3 separate regions of the Homo sapiens genome follow, and all the other regions are linked to region 3. The links are contacts of gene promoters, found by promoter capture Hi-C in human tissues and cell types (Jung and others, 2019). All regions are on one chromosome and are shown on one strand. The core of a region is centred on a gene start or on the middle of the fragment in contact, and the rest is flanking DNA. Distances in the headings are between cores, read along the strand shown. Region 1 has its middle 190 kb from the start of LINC03018. Region 2 has its middle 300 kb from the start of CA8. Region 3 holds the start of NSMAF (neutral sphingomyelinase activation associated factor).

Region 1 (4,408 bases), core at 834-3,333, 1.1 Mb after region 3:
TTTTCTCTGAAATCTGTGAAGAAAATAAAAGAGATATGATCAATATCCAATGTCTCATAGTCTAAATATCTTCGAAGTCTAGAAATGCTATATTATGAGATGGCAACTAGAAAAAAATTACCTCTGATGTCTCTTATCAAAGTAAAATCCTTTTCAGTATAGGTTTTTTGAGAACTGATGTGTTTTAACTATTTTGAAATGCTTATTTTGCTGTTTAAAGCATATTAGTTCTTTCAAAATAGTAATGAAATATAGGAAGTGTTTACCAAACCTTTCAATTAAATACAGAGGAGCTCTCCTTTTGAAAACATTTCTTGTCAAGTTATATATTTTTACAACTAATGAATTCTTAGATTAAGATTTTCAAAAAATAGCTATGCCTCTTTTGATGAGTTTAATAACATCATGGAGCAATATCTTTCTTACTATTTAAAAAAAAAAATCTAAGATGGTAAAATAGCATGTTTTAATTTTTTTTCTTTAATGAAGGCCACAAAACTTGTAGATTATTGTTAACATTTGATTTCTAAAAGATATAGTATGTACAGTCATATTACCTATGTTTAGACTTTTAATTTAAAGAAGAGTTATTGAGGGGCTTCTTTTTTTATAACAAATCCACTGTGAGTCCATACAATGTTTCCTTGCTGTTTTCATTTAATCACAGATGCAGTGCACATCAAAATTTCCCAGTAAGTACTGACTTAGTAGATTTCCTGCCAGATACAGGTGTGTAGTCAATCTTGTGGATGAAAGCGTGTGCTAACTCAAAGAGCCAAGTAAGTGTACCTTCCAACCAAAGTGAGGGGCTTTTAATGAATTCATTCCTAGAACTGATGTCTCTGCTGCCCTCCACTGCCTGGGGGATCCCTGCCCTGTTGGAATCAATTGAATTGTCACACATCAGAGGGGAACCTATGGGGCCTAAAGGGCATCTTGGTCAGAGCTCCACCTATCAGCCTAAAATGAGACTTCTAGAGAAAACGCTTTTAACCATCCAAAAGTATACATTTAGAACGACTTTAGGGCACAGAGATGTTAAATGTTTTGATGGGTCGTGTGTACATTTTGGAAGCCCCTCCCCAATTGAACCACGGGCAGGATTAAAAATACCCTGAGCTCCTATTGTGTTTCTGGGCTCTGTGCTGAGAGACTGTGCTGCTCAAGGAAATTAAATTTTGAAAGTTTGACAGCTATAAGGCTAGCTGGAAAAATTTCAGACTGTGCTTCAATAAAGCAACAATGGGATCCATGGGATCATAGAGAAAGTCATCCTGACTACAGGAAAACTGGGGATGTACTGAGGGCCCTGGGCCTGGCCTGGGGCTGGTTCTGGAGGAGGGTGTGATGGATGAGTACCTCCAGGAACCGGCAGAGCCCCACAGATGGCACAGCATGGGGCCTGTTCAGACACTGGAGTGTGAGTCAGAGTAAGACAGAGATAAGACAGAGAAGGATGGATTGGAGCCACATTGCAGAAGCCCTTAATTTGTCATTCTGAGGAGTTTAACTTAGTGAAAAATGATAGGACACCTAGTTTACTCTGCAGAAAAGACAGAATAAAATAAGACAGAATGGAGTAAATAAAACTAATGCCTGAACCCTTTCGATGGGTCAGACTCTATGCAAGGCATCTCACATAGAGCATTTATTTTATCCTCACAAAAATCCAGTGACATAGGAACACATTTTATTGACAAGAATTCTGAGGCTCATATTCAATATCATATCTGGGGCAGAGACCGCTAGCTACATGTTCCCATATTTATCGCCAACCTTTTCTCCCTGCTCATCTCTGTGGCAGAGCCTTCAGAAACTAAAAATTCTCTGCCTCAGCCTCCCTTGCAGGCTAGAAGTGTCCCAGTGACATAATTCTAGCTGGTGAACTATCAGGGGAAGTCTGTTAGGAAGCTTTTTGAAAAGTTTAGAATTGCTTATTAAAAGACAATGAAGCCCGGGTCCCCGGCAATGCCCCCACTCTGTATTCCTACCTGCAATATGGAGGTAGTGATACCAGCTGGGAAAACCTCGGCATGCCACAGTAGCCCCTGACTGCACTGCCAGAAAGGTTGTCCCTGAGGTCATGGAGCAGAAGGAGTCACACATCAAACTAAGGTGTTGAACCTCAGAGACTTGAGTCCGTCTAAAGCCTACAGTGAGAAGCAAGGAGAAAGAGAAGGGAGGAGGGAGAAAGACTCACTGAGTCCTATGTTATGACACTTGCTCACCCAGCCCCCTCTCCACCACAGCAGGCTTCTTGCTGAACCAGTGTGTCAAGCACCAGAGCTGATGGTGAGCCACGGGTGTCCACAGGCAGACAGTGCCTGAAGCCAACACATGCTGCTCTGCTGCAGTGACGCCGTGGCCCCCCTCATCACAATATCACTCCCCAACCACCTGAAGAGCAGGCAAGCCTCACATATGCATGCCTTTGGCAGAAAACATGTGAGGCCATATGGGTGTCACCCTGGGGAGGCTGATGTAGAAGGGCATAGCTTTCAAACCACAGGTGACATCATCTGAACCTTGTGCATATTTAAGGTTTATGTGGCCTTTCTATTGCTATCTGTAGATATTAGTCTTCTTTGTTCTGTCTCAACACATAAATATCCCCTTTATCCTATATCTGATGTGTCTTATGGGTTACTAATTTATAATCTATACGTCTTATGATCTTCCTATGACTCACAAGCCATAAGTTGTATATACTTAATACAACTTATGAGTTACATCATCCATTTTCCTTTCTTGTCCTCTAGCAAAAAATTAAATATACACAAATAACACAGCACACATGCTTTAAAGATACCCCCAAAGAAGACACATTTCCATTAACCATGTAGCTAGAAGACTAAAGAGCAAATAAAAACCTGTAAGGATGGAGTGGCAAGACAGAGACTGTGTCTTCATGGAAGCACTGCAGTTGAGCCAGAGCCAGGAACTGCCCTCCCCAACACTTCTTGCAATGTGCAGAGCTTAAGCACCTATTGAGTAAACCATTATTCACTGAAATTTCTTTCATGTGTACCCAAATGCCTCCTGTCACCATTCATTCAACAAGAATTTATTGAGGACCAGTTGTATACCAGACGCTTACTTTAGGAACTAGAGATATAAGAGTAAAAGTAATCTCTGTTGCTGCGAGACTTACTTTCTAGTGAAAAGAGAAAGAATATTTCTTAAAATATTAACTTTTGAATTTCTGTACGTAGCCATGATGGGGTAACTGGTACTAAATTTGCCCTGCTCCTGTAGTCAACTAGAAAACTCAAGATTCTTGCAGAAGGCAGGCGAGGTGATAAGATATGGAGGGTGGGGAATGAAGAATTTGATTTTATATTGAGGTCAGGGAGTTTTCTAAACTGACTCAGCAGGGTTTTTGCTAAAACTGGGCCAAGTAGGCCACGAACAGAGTCCAAGGTCAGGGTTTTAAGGACTTAAAGGAGTTTCACTAAAGCTAGGTCAAGGAGAGCATCTTTGTTAACTCCCAGGGAAAGAATAACTATAGGATGACATAAGTTGAAAAATCACCAGAGCCCACACAGGGCTGGAAGATGCAGTTCCAGGCAACAAGAGAGGACTCCGTTGAATAGCCACAGCATTCAATAGAGACCCCAGGAGGGTCTTAGCAGTAAGCATCAACTAGTGCTAGACAAATCTGTTCTAAACTCACCCAAACAAAGTTAAAGTCAATTTTTAAAAATATCAAGCCATTTGGCATGTAAATAACTGCCTACGGGAACAAATTGCGACACTCATTAAAGGAAAACAATATAATCTTGACACTTAATGATTTAATATTTACAATATTCAGCAACCAATCAAATATTAGTGTATATGCAAAGATGCAGAAAAATGTGACCCATTATTATCTGAAAAAATGTGAATAGACATGGTTTAGAAATGTCCAGAAACGACAGAAGTGATTAAATTTGCAGATAGTTTAAAACAGTCGTTATAAATATGTTCAAGCATTTAAATGAAAACATGAGCACAATGAGAAAAGAAATAAAAAATATAAAAAGAATCAGATGGATCTTTTAAAGCCAAAAATTGTAGTGTCTAAATGTAAAAATTTATTAAATGGGTTGAACAAGATATTTGATAGAATGTTTAGTAAATTTATAGGCAATGAAACTTTCTTTTTCAGTAAAAACATTCTTTATTTGTAAGCAGACATTTCAAACTTTTTGATTACATACATCATGCAGAATGACTGACCTCACACATGGTTGTCTAACTGTTCATTGTGACATCTTTTTTGAGATGATTATAAATTTAAGAAGAATGACTGCAGTAGTAAAAATAATTCATGAAAATGACTCTCAATGAAGCAAAACACTACATAGCACACATGAAATACTGTTCATCCCTCCTGGATGTTTAATTCTCTCCTAATGTAAATATC
Region 2 (4,952 bases), core at 998-3,497, 1.3 Mb before region 3:
TTAAATTAAGGTATGTATATTGGTTTTTCAGACATAATGCTTTCACACACTTGACAGACTCCAGTATAATGTAAATATAACTCTTATATTCATCGTGAAACCAAAATGTTTCTGTGACTTGCTTTATCACGATATTCACTTTATTGTGGTGGTCTGGAACTGAACGTGCACTGTCTCTGAGGTATGCCTGCATATAAGGCATACCTTACAAATATTTTCCCAGGCCTCTTCATTGAAAGGAACTAGAAACAGTGACACCCTAGTAGCAATGAACATCTCCAGCACCCAGATTTTTGTTTTCATATGCCATTTTTCAATTAAATGAGCCAGTGCTCCTTGGTGAAATAGTTGATTTTAGGATTGAGGAGGGCAAAATATAAAATGAGACTAGCTGGGCGCTGGCTCCCACATGTAATCTAACCTATTTGGGATGCTGAGGAGGGAAGATCGCTACAGCCCAGGAGTTCAAGGCTGCAGTGATCTGTGATCACACCACTCTAGCTTGGGCAGCAAGCAAGATCCTGTCCCTTTGAAAAAAGAAAAAGAAAAAGAGGGTTACTGAAGGTTGTGCTAAAAAACAAAACCAAACAGAAATAATAGTGGCATGTTAAAAGGATGTAGCAGCCTATCTAACTGCTGGAGCAATTTGAGTAATAAATAAGTAATGATAATATTGGATTGCAACCCCTAAAATAAGTATTCATAAATTCATACTGATATAAATAAATAGAGTTTAGTTTTCATCTCCTTGAGGGTTGTCAGGATTTATTGACTTGCTTTTAAATAATAGAGTTTGAGAAGAGAAAAATAATAACTTTACAGTGAGGAAACCTAAGTGACACCACATTAACCAAGTGATTAAGGTTAATACTAGCCATCTAAAATTTAGGTAATAGTATTGTACCAATTTACTGCAGTTATGTAAAATATTAACAATAGGGACACCAAATGAATATTTTGTAGGAACCCTCTGTTCTACCTTTGCAACTTTTCTAAAAATGTAAATTTATTCACAAATAACGTTCTTTAAGAACAAAATGTTCTGCAATTATTGGTTGCAGTATCTTATGTATGTCTTTTATGTTAATTTATTTGCAAGGTAATTATAATCTAATTCTTTGATGTGTGTTTTGAAATTTAGAAAGCTTGCATTGTAGTAATAATTCTATTGGACAAATATATGTGCACCTGTAATGTGACTTCAAACTACATAAAATAAAAATGGACAGAACTACATAGAGAAATAGAGAAATCCATAACCACACTGGGAGATATTTTTGTTAACCTTTCTATATGTTTATATTATACATACTTTCCTTCTTACCAGCATACAGTTGGGCCTGAAAAACATATTTTTTAAAAATGGAAACACTTAGTCAATAGTATAAATTACTGACACATTGGGATTTAAATTCACTGTCTTTTGTCCTTACTCCAGCTTTTGTATGTTCTCCTTTTCTCTTTGTGTCATTCTTTGAATTATTATTTTTATTATTTTCATCCTTATTAGCTAGTTGATTTTATAGATTTTTCCTCTTCTTTTAGTGGTTTTCCTAAAAAATTACGTCATGAATTCCTTGCATACAAGAGTCCTTGGTACTTTTATCCTTTTCTCAGAAAATGTACAAATCTTAAAACACTTTAACTCTATTTATCCTCTTCTTAGCTTATATGGTATATTTGTTATTTTGTTATTTTTGTCTTTATATATATATAAATGTTTTCTTAACAAATACACATACACGTGTGTGTGTGTGTATGTGTGTGTGTATGTGTGTATATGCGTGTGTGTGTTTTAGAGATGAGGTCTCACTCTGTTGCCCAGGATGGAATGCAGTGGCACAATCATAGATCACTGCAGCCTCAAACTCCTGGGATCAAGGGATTCTCCTGCTTCAGCTTCCTGAGTAGCTAGGAATACAGACATGTGCAATGACACCCAGCTTAATTTTTAAAACATTTTTTTGCAGAGTAAAGGTCTCACTAGGTTGCCACACACATATTTTTAAACACTATTATACTCTTAAAATGTTTTAGAAGCAAATTTCATTCAAATCTTTACACATGTTTATCATTTTTATTGCTCATCCTTCCTTCACCAATTCCTGAACTCCCATCGGGTTTCATTTCCCTTCTGCCTGAAAAACACCTTTTTGTATTTCTTTCAGTGCTGGTCTGCTGGAGCTAAATTTTCTGTTTTTCTTTGTTAGAAAATGTCTTTGTTGTACCCTCACTTTTGAAAAATGCATTCTTTGAGTATAGCATTCTCAGTTGGCAGTTATTTTTTTTCCATGCTTTGAAGATATTAATCCTGTGTTTTCTGGCTTCTATTGCTTCTGTTGAAAAATCTCCTGCAGTCTGATTCTTGGTCTTTTCAGATTCATCTTTTTTTGTCCCTTATGTGGTTGTAAGATTTTCTCTGTTTTTAACATTTTCAAATGATATGCCTATTAAAAAAATTTATCCTGCTTGTGGCTCAGAATGCTTTTTGAATATTTCCTTTGGTTACCACTTTAGGACAATTCTCAACCACTATCTTTTCAAATATTACTACAGCTCCATTTTGATTTCCTTCTGGGAAAGCAAATTACATGTATGTTAAATACCCTTGGTCTCTTTCTCCTCTATTGTTTATTTTTTCCTACACAAGTTTTCTATCTGTTTTGTTCAGAGTATTTTTTCTGCCTGCTTTCTAGTTCAATAATATTCTTTCCAGTTCTGTTTAATATGCTGCTAAATTTATCCAGTGGATTTTTAATTTTGGACATTATATTTTTCAGGTCTAAAATTTTCTTATTTCATTTTACAGTTTGTAGTGTTCTGTTGAAATTCTCAATCTTGGATTTTATTTTCTTAAACATATTAAGCATAGTTATTTAATGTCTCATGTCTGCTAATTATTTTGTGGGCTCTTTGTGTATCTATTTTATTTTCTGCTTATTTTCCTTTTTAAATTCATGTGGAATTATCTCCTTTTGTTCATGGTTCTTTGATTAAATGCTGGATATTATGTGTAGAAATATTTTTAACAATTTTGCTGATGATATCTTTATAATACATAATATATGTTACATTATATATAATTAAATATATAAAATAAGTATAAATTCTTCAGGGAGGATGTATACTTGTTTCCAGAAGTAAGTAGAGGCACTAGCAATCTGGATAATCTAATCCGGTTCTGGATTTGCTTTATTCTTATGGTGTAGCTGGTGTTTGTTGTTCAAACTCTAATTATGTGCAGTTTACCAGGGTTGCTCCTTCTTGTTTAGACATAGACTCTAATACTTGTGCCCCTAGACAATCAAAGCTGTTGAAAGTGCTTTTCAGCTCCTCAGGCTCTCATATGTCTCTTCCTGAATTGGAAGACATCCTTGGGATACATGCCAGGCTCAATTTTCTGGGGATTCTTCTTTTCCTGGATCATATGCCCTAATTCTTCACTACCTTGTTAATTCCATCTTGCTTTCAAAAAGCTTTCATGAATATTTTTTCCAGATTTCGTGGTTTGTTCTTAATGAAGGAATTGTCTAGTCCACTTTAACTTGAAATAAGTTAGTTACTGCTTTATTTTCTTAGTCTGGTAGAAAGCAAAGTTATCAGTTGTGCATGAAGATGAGAAAGGAAATGTCAGCAGTTTAAGGAGCAAGAAAACATGTGAAAAAGTCAACTATTACCATAGTGAGAGGTTAAATGAACTTAATGATAACGTAATACTATAGCATTATAGTATCAGATTATATTTTACTTGGTATTATTAACAGCACGCTTGGGGTTTTTAGTCATTAATTCAAAATGGTACTGGACAGTGTGGTTGGGCTTTCCTTTTGCTATGTTCTTTCGTTATACAGGTGCAGAAGGCAGAGATTATTGCTTTTATCTATGTCTTTGGCTTTGAAATGACTACATTGTCTGAGGTATATACCCTGGGGTTTGTTGTTGCGTGCCAGGAATATTTAGGACACAGACACACACAAGGAGTTTAGGAGCAGAGGTTTAATAGTAGAAGAGAAGAGAAAGAGAAACAGCTTTCTCTATAAAGTGGTCTCTCAGCAAAAAGATGGACAGGGGGCTCATGCGCCCAATATTATAGTCAGGTTTGAAGAGGTGGTGTCTGATTTACATAGGGTTCACAGATTGGTTTGATCAGGTATGACTTTTACATAGCGCAAGGGGAAGGCTGTTCACCCCACCCTAATGGGCTTTCCAGTTGATTGGGGGCCATCTTGTCTGCTTCTTACTGTACACGTGGCTGACATGGAAAAGAGAAGATGGAGCCACCATCTTGAACATGTCTAGTCCTTAGTTCCTGCCAGCATTCACCCGTGCAAGCTCCCCGCTTGCTTGTCTGTGTCTTCAGCTCAACTTTACCGGCTTCTCTTTGTTAGAAAATGATTTGGGCCTGCTTTTCATAAAAGTAAAAGCCTTACAGAGGACTCCCATACCCTTACTATCTGCCTAAGTGATTTCTTCGTAACTCCTGTATCAGTTTTGTCTAACAAACCCAACGAAGACTTTGAGGGGCAAATAAATCCAGTTAATCAGGGAAGAGAGGTGATCATGGAGGTGAAAGAGAGTGAAAGCTGATGAGATCAATGAATTGAAAGTCTCAATGGGATAGAAAGATGATTGGCATTAGAGCGCTAAAGGAAGACAGCTGGAAAGAAGTAGAGCTCAAAGAGGGATTCGTGGAATTGAGGTTGTTGGGAGATTGTGGGTATCGATGGTTACAAGGTCTGAGGGAGATTCATAAGAGAAAGTCACTGAATCATTGAGATAAATTGGAGGACAAATTGAAAGAGAAAAGTTGAAGACCGAATGCTGGAATATTGGAAGAATTACTTATGTGCATACTGAAATGGCCAATAATTAAGACTGGGGTAGTCTTGGTCTAACAGAGAGCCATGAGAAGTGAGAAGAAATAAAAAGAGAATTGAAGAAACCTTGGAATT
Region 3 (4,633 bases), core at 479-2,978:
ATTTTTTATTTTTTGTAGAGACAGGGTCTTGCTTTGTTGCCCAGGCTGGTCTCGAACTCCTGGCTTCAAGCAATCCTCCTGCCTCAGCCTCTCCAGTAGCTGGGACTATAGGTGTGTGCCACTGTACCCAGGTAATTTTTATTTTTTATTTTTTGTAGAGACAGGGTCTTGCTTTGTTGCCCAGGCTGGTCTCGAACTCCTGGCTTCAAGGAATCCTCCAGCTTCAACTTCCAAAAGCATTGGGATTACCGGCATGAGCCATCACTCCAGCCCCTTAGGGCTTATATACCATAGGGGAGGGGTGGTTCAGAAGGGATGTGTAGGACAATTGAAGTATAATAACATCAAGTTGTTTGAATTAAGGACAGAACATACTGGGTAGATACCTGCTCTTACACAAGGAACAATAGATAAAGTAGAAATCTTAGAGGCCTTCCCAGAACTGGGGTCAATCAGAAGTCAACACGGAGGATTAGCTTCCAAGATGGAGCTGCTTTCGCCTCCACATCCAGCAATTCCACTCTTAGATTCCAATTCCACTCAACAGAAATGGAAACATAGGTCCATAAAAAAACTGTACATGACTGTGTACAGCAGCCTTATTCACAATAGCCAAAATGTGGAAACAACTGAAATGTCCATCAACTGATGAATGGATAAACAAAATGCAACAGAATATGCTCCAGCAATCTAAAGGAACGAAGTACTGTACAGATACATGCTACAACATAGATGAACCTTGAAAGCATTACGCTAAATGAAAGAAGCCAGACACAAAAGGCCACATATTGTATGGCTCCATTTATATGAAATATCCAGAATAGGCAAACCCATAGAGACAGGAAATTGATTATTGTTTGCTAGGGCTGGGGTTTGGAGGGTAGAGTTAGGAAGAGTGACAGCTAGAGGGTATGGGTTTCTTTTACATGTGATGAAAATGTTCTCAAATTGTGGTGATTGTTGAACATATCTGGAAATATACTAAAAATCGCTGAATGGTATACTTTAAATGGTTGACTTGTTTGGTATGTGAGTTATATCCCAATAAAGCTGTTATATAAAAAAAAATCATGCGAGCAATTATCTCAACAATCAAGAGACTGTGTTAAAGATTCTTTGCTTGGCCAAACTTCAGTTAGGCTTCTGAATCTTCTCCCAGGTCCTTGTGTGCACTTCCTTGTAAATGCAGTGTTAGGAAGTAACACTGCCACGGCAGTTTAGCAAGAATCCCCCACCCTCCATATGTGATCAAAATTCTTTACTCCTACCCTTAGTATCTGACCCCCTGGCCTGCCTTCACTGGGACTCCTGTTAGGTTGGTTCAGCCAGAATTTCCCCCAGAATTGATGTTTCCTCTTAGCAGTTTTCCGAACACCTGCTCCTTGCTCCTTGGCTATAAATCTCCACTTATTCCTGGTGTATTTGGAATAGTTACGACTGAGTTGCCTTCACCCCTTTAACTTCCGTCTTTTTTTTTTTTTCACAATGGAGGACACAAAACGTTGTTATTTCAAGTCTTTGTGGCCAACAGATTGGTGGTTTATGGGCCAGCATCCCTTTTTATGCGTAAAATATTTAAAACGCAGCCTGCAATGGTTGGTAAAGTGGTGAAACGTTTAGTGTGTGAGGTCGGATCCTGGTCTGGCCGCTGGCCCTGGCGATCCTCTGAGGCGGCCTGAGTTTGGGGCGCCTCGTGTCACCGCGCGCCCCTCCTCCGGGCCTGAGTCACGGTGCCGCCGGAGTCCCCACGCGAGGATGCTGCGGTGAGCGCGGCCGGGACGCCGCGTCGGGCTCTCGGCCGCCCAGCGGCGCCGCAGGGGAAGCCAGGCCGGCAGCCGCGCGCTCCCCAGCCGGCCACCAATCCCGCCCTCCCCGGCTCCTCCGGACCTCCTCGGCAGGCGGCGGCGGGGCCTGCCTGTGCGCTCTGCGCCCGCCCGCGCCTACCCTCCATGGCGTTTATCCGGAAGAAGCAGCAGGAGCAGCAGCTGCAGCTCTACTCCAAGGAGAGGTGCGCGCCCAGCTGAAGAAGGGCCCAGCCGGGGGCCTAGTCGGGGCCGGTCGTGGGGACGCCGGCCGGAGATCTGAGGGACGGGAGGCGGCGTGGGGGCCGGGCACGGAGGCAGGGGCCGGACGCGTGTCCAGGGCCTGGGCTGGGGGCTGTGGCGGAAACCTGAGGTCGGGGTGAGAGGCCGGGGGCCTGGTCTGGGCCGGAGCCTGCCGGGGACAGGAACTGGATGACGGGCCAGGCCAGATTCCACCGCGGAGCCGAGGCATGCCGAGCTATCCGGCAGTGCAGGTCCCGGCGGCCGCGGGCAGCTCACCCGGAAGGCCGCGCGGGGTCCGGGCGTGGATCCCGGCACGCGAGCCCGGGCGTTCGCAGGGGAGGGTGAGTACGCTGCCCGGCGGGCACCCCCTTTCTAATCCTTCCCCTTAATCGGGTCCAGGCACTCGGCGCCGGCGCCGCAGAGTTGGTCGCCGGGCGGCACCGAGCAGGCCGGCGACCACCCACTCGCATTGCCGCGCCTTTTTCCTGCCGACTCCTTTAGACACAGGACTAGCTCCATGCCCTGGAAGGCTGGGAGGGGGGCCGCCGGAAAGGCCTGATTCTGAGGAAAGCCAAGGTCCTGCCTCCCAAACACTTGCTCCCCGCGCAGTGGACCTTGTGTTGGAAAGCTTTGCAGTCGAAATCGCGGTGCGGCAGCGGAGCACTCATTCTCACCAGCATCCCAGTAAGGATTTGGGATCCCTTGAGCTAAAATGGTCTCACAGCAGTTCCCTTTCAGATATGCTGGACCTGTCCCCAAGGGAAGTCTCATAAGAAAGCTCACTTCGGCTCTATGTATAGTTCCCAGGGCATTTTTGGTGACAGAAACAACTTGCTCGGTCTGCAGCTCAGATGCCAAAAGGAAAGGGGGGCTGAATCATTTTACAGACACACTGTTTTGATTGTGAGAGCCACAGATCTTCCAGTGCTGCTAGCCTGTCACGTTGTCTCATCAGTGAATACCAGCAAAGCAGGTTACACGTGGGAATACAAGTGCAGACTTCAAGATTTGTCTACACTTGTTTTATAAGGGTTGACTCGACCCCTTTGATCCAGACATTCATCTTTCTCTAATCTGTAATGTTGGTCTAACCAGTGTGTCCACAGTACGAAATGTCATTTTTCTACTGTAGAGAAGAAGATACGATACACAGAAAACGTATCTCAGATATGGCTTTCAAAAATGTTTTTGGTGATGTGATTAGGTTTTAGTCACAGAAAGGGTTGTTTATTAAATAACTGAGCCCTAACTATGTAACTCACACTTGGGGATGCCCTTCTGACTGAATTTGTAATGCATTTTTCTTGTGGAAAGAGCTTGAGTGGAGATTCTTTGTTTAGTACCAACAATATTAAGACTTGTTGGTGCTCTGTATTGAGTGGGTGAACATTCATATTTAAATTGTGAGAACTTTGACACACTTGAATTGGCATCATGTTGTATGATATGAGTCATTCGTGCCAATACTCATATTGGCCTTTTTGATATACAGGGAAACGTTTTTTCCTTGGTTCTGGCTGTTATTTCGATGAAGTAATTTGTGTTCAATTTGGCTAGCTCATACAGCTCCGTGGTGTCACACAAACCTTGAAACCTGTACTTGCATTTCCATGTATATGCTGCTTTGTTAGAATTCATTGATTAGACAACAACGTGATAGGCTGGCAGTGTTCAGAGAGAACTCTAGCTCTTGGCAACCAAAACATTTATCTATCCAGTCAGGAGGCATCAACTGTTCCTGAGCATCAGTCATCTGAAAAAGTTGGCGCCATGTGTTTTATATTTATTTGAATTATAACTTGCTGAGTGCCCAAATTGTTTAGTGCTCTGCCCCATGGCTTTGCAACCTGGGCTGATGGGCATACTCCATTCAATGCATAGAATATGCATTTGAATGACAGGAATCTGTCTCACATCAGGTATGCACTGGAATCAAGGAGTCTCTTTTATAAATCTTAGAATTCATTCTGAAACAGAGGAATATTTTAAGGCAACTTTATTAAGCCCCAAATTTACCATTTCTGCCCAGATTTTTCCGGGTTTATCCCCTTGCATCAATAAACACAAATTAGCAAATGGATTGGATTCGTCATTGGCTCCAGCATACCCAGGAAAATTGTTACTTTTCTTGGAAAACTTGAAGAGGGGTTGTTTCAGAGGTTACCCATGAGAGGCCTCAACCTGTTCATTGTAAGTTCACTGGCGGCTCTCATGCTAATTAAGGGATTTTAGATTTCCAGAGCTACCAAATATTGACCCCAGAAAAGAAACTTGAAATGAGCATTTATTTCTCTTATTGTTAGGTTGATGTACTTTGATATTCCTGCAAAAGCAGAAGCATAGAGACTGACTAGGAGATTCTTGCATTGGTGGTTTAAACCAAGGTGGTGGCAGAATAAATGGAGGAAAGTGGATGGATTCTAGATGTTTTTAGGACGTGTGATTGACAGGTCTTGGTGTGGTGTATTGTCTGTGAGAGGTGATAAAGGAAGAATTCCAGCTAGGATTATCTGATAAAATACAGCACACCCAGTTAAGTTCGAATTTCAGATAAACAATGAATAATTTTTTAGTATAAGTAATTGCGA

The links. Contacts are between HindIII fragments. The study calls those that stand out against the background at their distance.
Region 1: a contact is called between a fragment that was not itself captured here and the fragment with the promoter of NSMAF in region 3, in 1 of the 25 tissues and cell types used here (dorsolateral prefrontal cortex).
Region 2: a contact is called between a fragment that was not itself captured here and the fragment with the promoter of NSMAF in region 3, in 1 of the 25 tissues and cell types used here (lymphoblastoid cells).

Annotation. Positions count from the first base shown.
Region 1 is chr8:57,558,300-57,562,707 of GRCh38, reverse strand. No RefSeq gene overlaps it. Among named protein-coding and RNA genes, the nearest start is that of LINC03018, 190 kb to the left of the region's middle. The HindIII fragment of the contact is 5,602 bases long and covers 1-4,408 here.
Region 2 is chr8:59,976,159-59,981,110 of GRCh38, reverse strand. No RefSeq gene overlaps it. Among named protein-coding and RNA genes, the nearest start is that of CA8, 300 kb to the left of the region's middle. The HindIII fragment of the contact is 4,455 bases long and covers 20-4,474 here.
Region 3 is chr8:58,656,948-58,661,580 of GRCh38, reverse strand. It overlaps NSMAF (neutral sphingomyelinase activation associated factor), which reads left to right and starts at 1,728. Exons shown (of 31, transcript NM_003580.4): 1 at 1,728-2,008. The coding sequence starts at 1,950. RefSeq lists silencers at 1,651-1,990, 2,001-2,450 and enhancers at 2,162-2,724, 2,901-3,190, 2,725-3,288. The HindIII fragment of the contact is 8,969 bases long and covers 1-4,633 here.